Regions from separate parts of the Homo sapiens genome. Here regions 2, 3 and 4 are each linked to region 1. The links are contacts of gene promoters, found by promoter capture Hi-C in blood cells and fetal thymus (Javierre and others, 2016). All regions are on one chromosome and are shown on one strand. The core of a region is centred on a gene start or on the middle of the fragment in contact, and the rest is flanking DNA. Distances in the headings are between cores, read along the strand shown.

The links. Contacts are between HindIII fragments. The CHiCAGO score rates a contact against its expected background, and 5 or more counts as called.
Region 2: a fragment that was not itself captured here is called in contact with the fragment with the promoter of RNF175 in region 1 in 2 of 17 cell types (activated CD4 T cells and M2 macrophages); the score reaches 5.2 in activated CD4 T cells.
Region 3: a contact is called between a fragment that was not itself captured here and the fragment with the promoter of RNF175 in region 1, in 1 of 17 cell types (neutrophils). The highest score is 6.2, in neutrophils.
Region 4: a fragment that was not itself captured here is called in contact with the fragment with the promoter of RNF175 in region 1 in 1 of 17 cell types (neutrophils); the score reaches 5.7 in neutrophils.

What each region holds. Positions count from the first base shown.
Region 1 is chr4:153,758,307-153,761,448 of GRCh38, forward strand. RNF175 (ring finger protein 175) reads right to left here and starts at 1,718. Exons shown (of 9, transcript NM_173662.4): 1 at 1,491-1,718. The coding sequence starts at 1,556. The HindIII fragment of the contact is 8,763 bases long and covers 1-3,142 here.
Region 2 is chr4:153,322,320-153,325,461 of GRCh38, forward strand. It overlaps TRIM2 (tripartite motif containing 2), which reads left to right. Exons shown (of 12, transcript NM_015271.5): 9 at 329-497; 10 at 1,759-1,829. Among named protein-coding and RNA genes, the nearest start is that of MND1, 21 kb to the right of the region's middle. The HindIII fragment of the contact is 1,145 bases long and covers 980-2,124 here.
Region 3 is chr4:153,375,795-153,378,936 of GRCh38, forward strand. All of the region lies in intron 4 of MND1 (meiotic nuclear divisions 1), which reads left to right. Among named protein-coding and RNA genes, the nearest start is that of MND1, 33 kb to the left of the region's middle. The HindIII fragment of the contact is 2,543 bases long and covers 175-2,717 here.
Region 4 is chr4:153,405,659-153,408,800 of GRCh38, forward strand. All of the region lies in intron 6 of MND1 (meiotic nuclear divisions 1), which reads left to right. Among named protein-coding and RNA genes, the nearest start is that of TMEM131L, 59 kb to the right of the region's middle. The HindIII fragment of the contact is 8,859 bases long and covers 1-3,142 here.

The DNA of each region.
Region 1 (3,142 bases), core at 468-2,967:
TGGCGTGGGAACTGAGACTGCATTTTTAACAGGCTCCCAGGTAATGCCTTGGCTGCTGGTTCCTGGACCACACTGTCTTGCCATATGGGATTAAGGGAAAAGCTGTGAGTCCCTCCTAGGGCAGCCTCAACAGAGAGGCCATACCTCCTGAGGGCAGCAGACTAGGCAGTGATGCCAGCCTTAAGGAAGAGCAAAGATCAGCAGCAAATCCACCAGTACTAGATCCTCTGACACTCCTGGCATGCATTCATCAATTCAGAACCTCCCTTTCGATAATCTGGGTTTGAAACCAGCAAGAAAGTCATGGAGTTTCATTTTAAGTTTCCCCATTTTGTGGTACACAAGCCCCTCCACAGCCTAGCCCACCCTTATTTTTTGCTATAAGCATTCCTGACCCCTAGGTTTCTGGCAGTCAGAGTGGACAGTCCCCTCTCTCTGCCTTGTCCCATGGCCATCCATCCCAATATTAAAAAAAAAAAAATCTCCAAGCCATTTGGTACTGTTGTTCCCTCCATCTAGAATTCTCTGGCCCATGAGGTCAGATCCTGTCCATTCCCCAACACCCAGCTCGAATGCCACGCCCTCACGGGTTGGAGGAGAAGGGGGTTAGTCAGGAGCAAGCCCTTCTCAGAAATCCTACAGTTCTTTGCCTGAACCTATTTTGGGACATTAATCTCTTCCTACCCGCTCTGTGAGTGATTTTTGTTGTTGTTTAAGAGTTATCTTTGCCCTTAAGAGTTATTTTTGTCCTCGTTTTACGGATGGGATTTGGGTTCCTCCAGGTAAGACCTACCCTCCTCCACCCCCAAATCCTCCTGGTACCTGGATGTAGCCTAAGAAGAATTGTCCTATGAACGAAGAATAAATTAAGATTGGGTTTGCAATTGACGCCAGCAGAAGCAGAAATGGGCTAGGTTGAGCACCAGGCAAGACAAGCTGACGATCAGGGTACACATCTTGAATCAGAAACCCTGGGCACAGACCAGCAGTCTGCGTGGTAACAGGCCCTCCGAGTGATTCTGATGACACTCGAGTTTGAGAACCAGGGCGGTCTAGCCAAAAGCCTGCAGTACACCCCTTCCCCTCTCTCGCAGCTTACGACCTTGACCCTGGGCTCTGGGGGCTTCCGCCGAGGAGGGAGGAGGGCACAGGCGGTCACAAAGGAGGGCGGGAGTGGAAGGGGTGAGCCTGGAAGAGAAAGTGCGAGGATGCGAGAAGAGGGATGGAGCGAAGGAAGAGGATCAGAAGGAGGAAAGGAAGGTAGCGGGGAGGGCACAGAAGTGGGGAGGGAGGGAGTGGAGGAGGGACTGGCACCCCGCACGGTGGCATCTTCCAGAAGGTCATGCGTCCGTCCCCACGTCTTTCCAGGGCCGGTTCTCCCCGGTGGGGCCCGGGGTCTTGGAGACCAGTCTGTGCAGCCTGCCCGGCACCAGCGTGAGCCCCGGGACCCCGGCCTGGCGTCCCCCACGCCCGCGCCCCCGCGCCAGTACCTGCTCCTGCTGCGGGGGGGCCTCCAGCACCGGCGCTGCCTTCCGCGCCGCCGTCCCCGCGGCCATGCCTGAGCCACTGTGCCTTCTCCAGGGCACAGCGCCTGCCGGGGAGGGTCCCGCAGAGTCCGCAGAAGGAGGCGCCGCGGGGCCTCGGGAGCCGAGGGTGAGAGCCGGATCTGCGGCGGCGGCGGAGCGGCGGCCCTGCCCGGGTTGTGCGGGGCGGGAGATGGGAGCCTCCCGGCACGCCCCGCCTCCGCCCCCTGCACGCTGGCCAGCGTCCTCCCCAGCAGCGGCCTCGAGGTCCCGGTCGCCAGCACCCCGGTTCCTTCAGAACCTCAGGCCTCCCATTCAGCCAGCCATTGTCGCCGATAAAGCGTCTTGAGCCCTACCGGGTGCGTGTGGCGGGAACCCCGGTTTTGTTACCGGGCGGCAGGACTGGAGGAGGGGTCAGAGGTGGGTAGGGAGAGAGAGGGGAGTAGAGGAGTGAGAAATGGCGGTGGGGGGGCGAGGGGTGCTGGGGAGGAAGAGAAGAGAGAGAGAGAGTTTCCTCTCCCTCAGAGGTGTTTATTAGGAGGCAGGAGTTCGGGTGGCTGTGCAGATACAGACTTTCCTCAGTTATCTGTGCTTCCTCCAAAGATGATGAAGGAGAGAAACTCCAATCTAGGGAGAGCGCAGACCATCTTGGCCCCTATGCTGCTCCAGGCCATGCAGGGCCCCTGCGACGCAAGCATCTTGCCTTTGCCCCTCTACCTCCAGGGTCTCCCCTCCCGCCTTTACAACTTAGGCCTAAGCCTGGCTTCAAGGTTGAGAACAAGCTGGAACGTTTAGGCAAGCCTTTAGAAATACCTGGGTGTTGATTTGGGGAAACAGAAAAGAGGAGCACAGAATTAGATGATGTGTCCTACGAAATACAGCTTACCCCTTTCCAGTTTGTGATGGCTCGTATTTGTCAACACCTACAAAGGAGGTGAACAGACCAAGATGGACATTTCTCTGCCATTGTGGAACGTAGAGCCTAACAGGGGATAGAGAAAAATAAGCATCTAAGTACAATTTATCACGGATGGTGCCTTGGTTTTCCAGCCTTAACTGGGCATCAGAATCCTATGGAGGAATGCTGAGTTTGTTAAAACTCAGAGTGCTGGCCAAGCACAGTGGCTGATGCCTTTAATCCCAGCACTTTGGGAGGACAGGGCGGGCGGATTGCTTGAACCTAGGAGTTTGAGACCAGCCTAGGCAACATGGTGAAGCCCCATCTCTATAAAATATACAAAAGTGAGCTGGGCGTGGTACACCTGTAGCCCCAGCTACTCAGGAGGTTGAGGCTGGAGGATCGCCGGAGCCCGGGAGGTTCAGGCTGCAGTAAGCCGTGATGGAACCACTGCACTTCTGCCTGGACAACAGAGCGAGACTCTATCAAAAAACAAAACAAAAATCTTCAGATTGCTGGAGTTGAGCCCTAGAGTTTTTAATATAGTAGGTCTAGGGTGGAGCCTGAGCATTTGTCTTTTGAACAAGTTTTCAGGTGCCGCTGGGGCTGTTACCTACATCTGAAGACTACCTTGTAGCATGATCAGAGTGTGTTGGAAAGAGTGTCTGAGATGGAGAGAACAGTGGATGCAAGGGCCGGAATGCTGGAGAAGGCATAATGA
Region 2 (3,142 bases), core at 302-2,801, 440 kb before region 1:
AGAATTGCATGAACCCAGGAGGTGGAGGTTGCAGTGAGCCGAGATTGCACCACTGCACTCCAGCTGGGACAACAGAATGAGACTTCGTCTCAAAAATAAATAAATAAATAAATAAAAGAATAAGGATTTATATAGATATCAGCAGCAGATAATGGATGTGACAAAGCCAGTTTTCCAAGACAGAAGTTCATTGTGATATATGAGTAGCTGTGTACCCGTTTGAACCTTCAGGTAAATGTTGACCAAAACAGTGTTTATCTTCATGTTCTGTAGTGGTTTAAACTTTGACTCTATACTGTACTTCTATTTCTGTACTTGTTTCAAACAGACAAAAATTGGATCAGGAAAGCTGATGGGACCCAAAGGAGTTTCTGTGGACCGCAATGGGCACATTATTGTTGTGGACAACAAGGCGTGCTGCGTGTTTATCTTCCAGCCAAACGGGAAAATAGTCACCAGGTTTGGTAGCCGAGGAAATGGGGACAGGCAGTTTGCAGGTACACTCGATGGTAATATGTAAACCCCCTTTTTTATGCTTCTTCTGCTCACATTTGCATGATGTTGGAGCATGTTGAAGACACCGCATCCCTAGTGTGTTTGCTGGCTTTGGGAAAGATGCTGGGGATAAAATCTAAGCAAAAGCATGTTTCGTTGCTTGAGCCTTAGTCACCGCCACCCACCCGGCAGTAAGTTGAGCTGCAGTCCTTGTGTGGTTTTTATCGGTGGCAGTTCACAACTCAGAAGTCTAGCTTTGAAATATTCATATTAAATAAGGTATAAATTTTAAAATAAAAATATTTGAAAAACAAGGAATAACTACTGTTTCAGCCTAGCTGTAACTTTGCTTAAAAAGCCACTGAATGAGAATTTTTTTTCACCTTTCTAGGTTATTGTAAGAGAACAGGAGTCTAGAATATTTGCTAGGTTTAAGGAGGGCAGTCTGTTTTACGTCTCTTTGGTGTAGCACTTTGCAATCACAAGCTTATTTAGGTTTTTGCATTTGCAAGAAGAGGCTGAAAATAGCTTATTAATTTTCTTTTTGAAAGGATGCTTTTGGCACTTAGTATTAATTTGCATAATATTTGTTTATGCTTTGTCTCCAGTTCTGCCAAGTTTCTGAATGTCACCCAGAATTATAGTGTGGGTTTTCTGTTGTTTTGTTTTGTTTTGTTTTGTTTTTGAGACAGGGTCTCGCTCTGTCACCCAGGCTGGAGTGCAGTGGCGTGATCTCAGCTCACTGCAGCCTCGACCTCCTGGGTTCAAGTGATCCTCCTGCCTCAGCCCTCCAAGTAGCTGGGACTACAGGCATGTGCCACCATGTCCAGCTAATCAATTTTTAAAAATTACATATTGGAGTCTCTTTTCCAATGCTGAGTTGCCACGTCTTTCCTTGGTGGGAGCTGAGGGCTCTAAAATGACTAACAGATACTCAGGGAAGCTGGCAGATGTGACTTTTAGATGGTGGCACGGAGAATGAATTCTGATGCTTACTGCTCCTCCCACTTCATTAGGGCTGCTAGAACTCCCAGCCTGCTTGAGAAAGAGTCAGAATAGACTGGCGCAAGTAGAGAATAATATAGGATCCATGTTATCTGCAACTGGAGGTCTGGCTGAATGATCTTTCAAAGACTGAGTCTATGATTCTTTGTACTTTCTTAAATAACTAAGTTAATATATTAAGTTTGTTTGTTACAGTAACTGCTATATGTAATCACTTTTGTTGTAGTCATCACATATTTTTTTCCATCTTTATTGCAGGTCCCCATTTTGCAGCTGTAAATAGCAATAATGAGATTATTATTACAGATTTCCATAATCATTCTGTCAAGGTACTACAAGCACATGAGTTGTTGTTAACTTTTAACTGCTTTTATGGAGAAATTGGTCTGCGAGAAAATAATGCAATACTTACATATGGCACCAAAGGGAGTTAACCAGCAGAGTAGACTTTGTTCTGCTCAAAGATGCCGGTTTTAACTTGGACTTACAGACCTTGGAAAGTCAGGAAATTGAATAAAATGTGGTGGCAATAAGTTGCTTAATTTGAAACTGGTGCAAATGAAGAGGACTTGAAAATTAAATTTTAAAAAGCAATTCGTTGAACTTAGAGGCAGAACTTTCTGAAGCTTAATGTTTTGTGGCTAGTCAATAAATTAAAATCACTTTTTCAATTTTCCGCATCTTTTTGTTAAAAAAAAAATTAGATGTTCGACTCTGTTACAACAACAGACAGCATGGGGAGGGGGATAATCCTAGCATACATTCATACAGTATATTTTATACTTCTTAGAATGCTTTCACACATTTGGTGTTCTTTAGAAAACAGTGACCTATAGTATATCTTTCTTACTAGGTACCAGGGGAGAGAGAATTGAACTTTATTATGAGAAAATCAGGAAATAATAAAATGGTTCAAAACACATTACTCACTTACTGAAATGATGAGGAAATATTTAGTAATATCCTAGATCAGGCTTCTCAAGGTGTGATGCATGTTCCACTGAAGGTATGATCCGTGGCCATAGGCAGTACACTGGTGGATATTTTTATTTTAAGTTATGCATTTATTTTAGGGCTACCTTTTGTTTACATCAAGTGATGCTGTTTTGCACTTACAGACATAATAAAGTTTTTCTTTTAAATACATTAATCTAAATTTTAAAAGGTGAGTCATTTTAAAGGAAAAATGATAAGGAAACAGCAGAGGATGGTATGCCAGTGAGTAAAGTTTGCACTTAGAAACAATGACTGAGCAACCAAAATTAATAATGACTTATCAGTGCTAATGACTGCGATAGCTAGATAAGGGGTAGGTTTTTTAACACCCAAAGGTACTCTCTGTGATGTCCTTTCTGCATCCTGGAGAGCCTCTAACCTGAGTAAATGGAGAGGGCTTGGATCTTTTTGATGGGTGCCAAGTCCCTGTGCAGACAGTAGCGCACAGTGGGCTGCGGAAATGGGGTCAGGATAAGGGAACAGGGTGCCCACCGTTGCTTTTTTCTGAAACTGCTCCCTGCCATATTGTCTCTCCAGAGATGCTCACATGGTGGCATAGGTCCCCCCTACACTCAAATGCAGATAATCTGCATTCTCTGCTGAAACTACTGTCCATGGGAAGTGTCTTGGTAAAAGGAATAGGATA
Region 3 (3,142 bases), core at 196-2,695, 380 kb before region 1:
TGTGGTTGAATTTTGCTGAAAATAATTTGAGGTGTAGTGATTTATTTCTGAAAAGCTGAAATAAATCTTTGTATTGGCTTGGAAAAATAATTGTTAAACTAACATCTCTAGCTGTGACACAGATGCATTTCTGAAGACTTTTAACATAAATTAATAATTTTAATGGGCAAGAAAAGCTTTATGTGGAAGTGATGAAAGTGGTAGTGCATGTTCTAATCTGCTAGTTCTCCTGAAATATATGTAAATTTTTTTAGTATTTGGATGATAGTGAAGCAGCTATTTTGGCTCGACAGATAATAATTATAAAGATTAATTATGTTGTAGAAACTTCCAACTGAAATGACATTTCTCTGTATGCTGAAGAATATATAGAAATTATTAAAAGTCAAGAGATGACTTTTTCTTCTTGATAGCTATTTCTAGAATTTTAGCTGGAACTTGTTCATTTTCCCCCGTGTGGTAATGATTTAGTCACTGTGTGTGTGGATGTGTGTTTGTGGGTGTGTGCACACACACACTTGAAAGAGAAAAGGAGTGAGTGTGTTTGTGGTCTTTCTGAATATTTTTTCTAAGGAAAAGCCAGGTAAAAATGTGTAAGGATAGGTTCTTCCCATCATCTTCTGGTTCTCTTCTTTGCCCTTCCCAAATAACTTGGTCTTAAGAATGAAAGAACAATTCAACTTCAAGGGAATGACTTCCTCCATTTTACTTTGGCTTGTGTTAGTGGACATAGCATGGGGTACTGTGATGTGCACACAGCCAGGAAAGAGCAATGTTGTAACTGTTATGTTTAACCTGCTATTCCCCTGGAGTCACCTGGCAATACAGGAAGTAACTGACCACTACTGACTTGAAATGCACATTTTTTAGTCTTTTTCCAAAAAGAATAGAATTTCCAAAATTTATTTTTGTATTTGTACCCCTGTCCGTCCCTTCCACACTTCCTGTTCTGACTTACATATTCCTTTTCTCTGGTGCTGTGGTACCCCGAGCATAACTCTAATCTGCTGGACTATGCTACAATTGTTGGCTTACTCAACCCCATGTCTTAGTCAACTTGTATCAGTACCTAGCACCGTTTTTGGCATGTGGTAGATTCAAGTATTTGACAAGTGAATGAAAATTAAAGGAAATAAAGGGTATGAAGTTATTCTTAACAAAAACCTTATACTAATTTGGAGAATTTTATTAATATGGCAGCAAGTCTATGTAGTGGTTTTTGACTGAGTTTTATTTAAAGTTAATGGGTCAGAATTATGAAAATCAAAATCTTTATTTTGTTTTCTTCCCCTGCTGACCTCTTCCTTAGTTCTTCATCCAAGTTCTGGTTTATACCCCACTTGTTGCCACTGGAAGGTAGTTTGGGGACATATTTTTTAGGGATTGGCTTATGATAAGGATTACATTTTGAAATCCATACTAAGCTGAATTTTAGATATTGTGTATTGGTTTAGGGAGGACACTAACAGATATTCTTAGGACAACTTAAGTATTTGTTTTGTTTTGTTACCAATTTTTAGAAGTGAATATATACAGTTCTTTATAGCTAAAACTGAGTGCATCAAGAGTAGGTTAATTATTGGGCTGTGTAGATAACTTGAAATGTTTTTGAATAAAAATAGGCATCTCTACTGAAGTTTATTCAGTTCTGTAAATGTTTAGTGAATGCTTGCTATGGCAGGCATTGTGATTGATGAGAGGGACATAAGAATGAATTAGGTAGTTTCTGTTCTCTAGAACCTCTCACTCTAATGAAGAGATGGCCATGTCAACAAATCATTGCAATATGGTGTGATATATGCAATGCTGAAAAATAATGATAGTACAAAAGAGGGTGAAAGTCAGTTCTGCTTCCGAAAAGGCTTTATAGTTAAGGAGACGTGTAAGTTGGTGCTAGAAAGATCTGTGGGAGCTCATAAGGGAATTGAAGGGTGAAGGGCACTATAGCGCAGTGATTTAAGGGAGTAGACTCTAGACCTAGACTCCCTAGATTCAGATTTAACTTCCGCCATTTACATGCTGTGCCTGGCTTTTTTCTTTTTCTTTATCTATAATGGACCAATTATAGTTGTATGTGCCTTGTTCTTTTTGCTTGGAAGTTTTTTAATCCCTTCCTCCTCAGCAGAGTATAATACTTTTTTGTGCTGTGACTGTCTTTTATATATATCTTTTCTCAAGTGAAGTCCTTATGTGCCTTGTTTTCTATGGCAGACTTTCTTTGAAGGCAGGGTCTATATCTTAATCGTTTTCTATCTCCCACGTGGAATGCAGTCTCTGAGACACACTGAAACATACAGAAACATGATGAATTTTGAGTGAATGCATAAATCAATATATCACAGCCTTGTTTCTGTCCCAGCTATTGTGTACTGGGTCCAGTAGTCTTACTCCCTGGCCCATACCTTTTCTTTGACTCCCAGTCTACACATACAGCAGAAAAGGTGGTTTCCATTAAATAGTTATTTTAGTAATCTTGATTTTTTTTCTAGAACTCAGCTTCAGAAATACATATTGTATAGAAATAATTAAATGTGAATTTTTAACTTTTTTTTCTACTAGCTTACCTGAATTATATTTTGCTGGGCCTGAGCTCAGCATTACCCAAAGTAATTCTGTGGAATGGATATATGATAAGTGTTACATAAAAGGGGGTTCTATAATCAAAGGAATTTGAGCAATCCTGGGTTGACAAAGATAAACTAGTTTGACTTTTCTAAAGCTTTAATATGCCAGCATGCATTGTGAATCTCATTCAACCCATTTTTATGAGGGATTGGTGATCCATGGAATACACTTTGGAGAAATGCTGCCTAAGTTTATGGGTTCATTTTAGCAAATAAGACTATTTACTGTCCTAGACTACTTTTTCTCCCCAGAGCTGACATATATTCTATGTTGATACCTGGAATAGTCTCACCAGTTGGCAAATCATATCCCAACATGTGCAAAGTGCTGTTGATAACAACTGGTGTTTTTTGACTCCTTTGCTAATTAAATATACCTGTATGGAGTCTCTGAAAGAGCCCAATCCACATTCCTTATCCTTAACAACTCCCTTCTTATAAGGGACTTCAGTATAGTAGTCAACTTTCTTAGTGCATGTATAAGTGTCTATAGATTAAACATCTGTTCTCTCCACTGA
Region 4 (3,142 bases), core at 382-2,881, 350 kb before region 1:
TTTAGCTCATGGTATTGGGCACAACTGGATATCCACATGCAAATGAATTAATCTGAACCCCCACCTTACATCAAAAAAATTAACTCAAATGGATCAAAGACCTACATGGAAGAGCTGAAACTATGAAACTCTTAGAAGAAAACAGATTTATATTTCTTTTTTTTGAGACGGAGTCTCACTCTGTCACCCAGGCTGGAGTACAGTGGCATGATCTTGGCTCACTGCAGGCTCTGCCTCCCGGGTTCAGGCCATTCTCCTGCCTCAACCTCCGAGTACCTGGGACTACAGGCGCCCACCACCACGCCAGGCTAATTTTTTACATTTTTAGTAGAGAGGGAGTTTCACCGTGTTAGCCAGGATGGTCTTGATCTGACCTCGTGATCTGCCCGTCTCGGCCTCCCAAAGTGCTGGGATTACAGGCGTGAGCCACTGTGCCAGGCCGGATTTATATTTCTTTATCCTTGGGTTAAGCAACAATTCCTTGAATATGACACCAAAAGCAGAAACAACCACAGAAAAAGTAGTTAAATGGACTTCATCAAAGTTAAAAAGTTTTGTACAATATCAAGAAAGTAAAAAGAGGCTGGGCGCGGTGTCTCATGCCTGTGATCCCAGCACTTTGGGAGGCCAAGGCAGGTGGATCATGTGAAGCCAGGAGTTTGAGACCAGCCTGGCCAACATGGTGAAACCCCATCTCTACTAAAAATACAAAAATTAGCCGGGTGTGGTGGCACACACCTGTAATCCCAGCTACTCGGGAGGCTGAGGCAGGAGAATCGCTTGAACCAGGAAGGCAGAGGTTGCAGTGAGCCAAGATTGTACCACTGCACTCCAGCCTGGGTGACAGAGACTCCATCACAAAAAGAAAAAAAGAAAGTAAAAAGTGAACTCAGGATGGAAGAAAATAGTCACAAGTCCTGTATCTGACAAGTGTCTAGTATCCAAAATATATAAAGAACTCATAATACAACAATAAAAAGACAACCCAGTTGAAAAATGAGCAAAGGATATGAACGGACACTTCCCCCAAGAAGATACACAGATGGCCAATAAGCACATGAAAAGATGCACAAAATCATTAGCAAATGCAAATCAGAACCCCAGTGAGATACTACTTCACACTTCTATTAGTCTGTTTTCACACTGCTAATAAAGACATACCTGAGACTTGGCAATTTACAAAAGAAAGAGGTTTATTGGACTTACGGTGCCACGTATTTGGGGAAACCTCACAATCATGGTGGAAGGTGAAAGGTACGTCTCACATGGTGGCAGACGAGAAGAGAGCTTGTGCAGGGAAACTCCCATTTTTAAAGCCATCAGATCTTGTGAGACTCATTCACTATCATGGGAACAGGGCAGGAAAGACCCGCCCTCATAATTCAATCACCTCCCACTGGGGTCCTCCCACAACACGTGGGAATTGTGGGTGTTACAATTCAAGATGAGATTTGAGTGGGGACACAGCCAAACCATATCAACACCCATTAGGATGGCTATAATGTAAAAATAGAAAATAATGAGGCCGGGCACGGTGGCTCACGCCTGTAATCCCAGCACTTTGGGAGGCCGAGGCAGGCGGATCACCTGAGGTTGGGACTTGGAGACCAGCCTGACCAACATGGTGAAACCCTATCTCTACTAAAAATACAAAATTAGCTGGGTGTGGTGGCACATGCCTGTAATCCCAGCAACTCAGGAGGCTGAGGCAGGAGAATTGCTTGAACCTGGGAGGTGGAAGTTGCAGTGAGCCAAGACCGCGCTATTGCACTCCACCCTGGGCAATGAGCAAAACTCCATCTCAAAAAAAAATAGAAAATAATAAGTGATGAGAATGTGGAGAGACTGGAACTCTTAGATTGCTGGTGGTATTATAAAGTGGTGCTACCACTTTGGCAAACAATTTATCTCTTCGCCAAAATATATACCCAAGATAATTGAAAATATGTCCACACAAAAATTATTCGTATTAGCAGAAACAGCCCAAATGTCCATCAGCTGATGAATGGATAAGCAAATTGTAAAATAGTACTTCGCATAAAAAAGAATGAGGTATTGATACATGAATGAACCTTGAAAACATTGTGTTAAGTGAGAGAGGCCAGACCTAAAAGACCACATATCGTATGTTTCGTTCATATGAAATGTACACAAAAGGGAAATCCATAGAGAAAAGACAGCAACTAGGTTAGTAGTTGCCAGGGGACGGAGGGAGAAGGAATGTGGAGTGAGTGCTAAGGGGCACAAGGGTTTTTTCTGGGTGATGAAAAAATGTTCTGGAATTAAATAGTAGTAATGGTTGTACAATTTTGTGACTATCATAAAAACCACTGAAAGCCAGGCATGGTGCCCCATACCTGTAATCCCAGCACTTTAGGAGGCCAAGATGGGGTGGATCACTTGAGGCCAGGAGTTGGAGGCCAACCTGGGCAACATAGCAAGACCCCTATCTCTACAAGAAATGAGCTGGGCATGGTGGCGCATGCGTGTAGTCTCAGCTGCTCAGAAAACTGAGGCAGGAGGATTGCTTAAGCCCGCCAGTTTGAGGCTGCAGTGAGCTATGATCACACCATGGTACTCCAGCTTGGGAGACAGAGTGAGACCCAGTCCCTAAATAAGTAAATAAATAAATAAAAATTACTGAATTATATAGTTTACTATGCTGAATTTTGTGACATATAAATTATCTTTCAATTAAAAATGCCATCATTGTAAGTAATAGTTAATGCCCCATTAATCATGGCATTGTTACATGCTGTGCAGAGTAACTCGAAGTACATAATATACATACAGATACATTTGATAGCACGATGTGTATTTAAAGTAAAAGTAAATACTTCCCGCTATGAGATTACTTTCTTATCCCTAAAATTTTTTTTAGAGTCACACTTATTGTGGTCTTATAATGCCTATATAGTAAAATTCTTATCGTTAAATTTAACTTATTTTGTTGTATTTTGGTATGGTGAGTTGTTTGAAAAACATCTCATTTAAACTTACATGTTGTCTTTAAAGGAGCAAGTACAATGATGATGGACACTTAGGAAAGGGAAATTGTTCACTTTGACTTTCCATTAATTACTAATACTACTGCAACTCCCTAAATTTCCTTGGGAATTTGCAAGAGTTTGTAAAATACAAT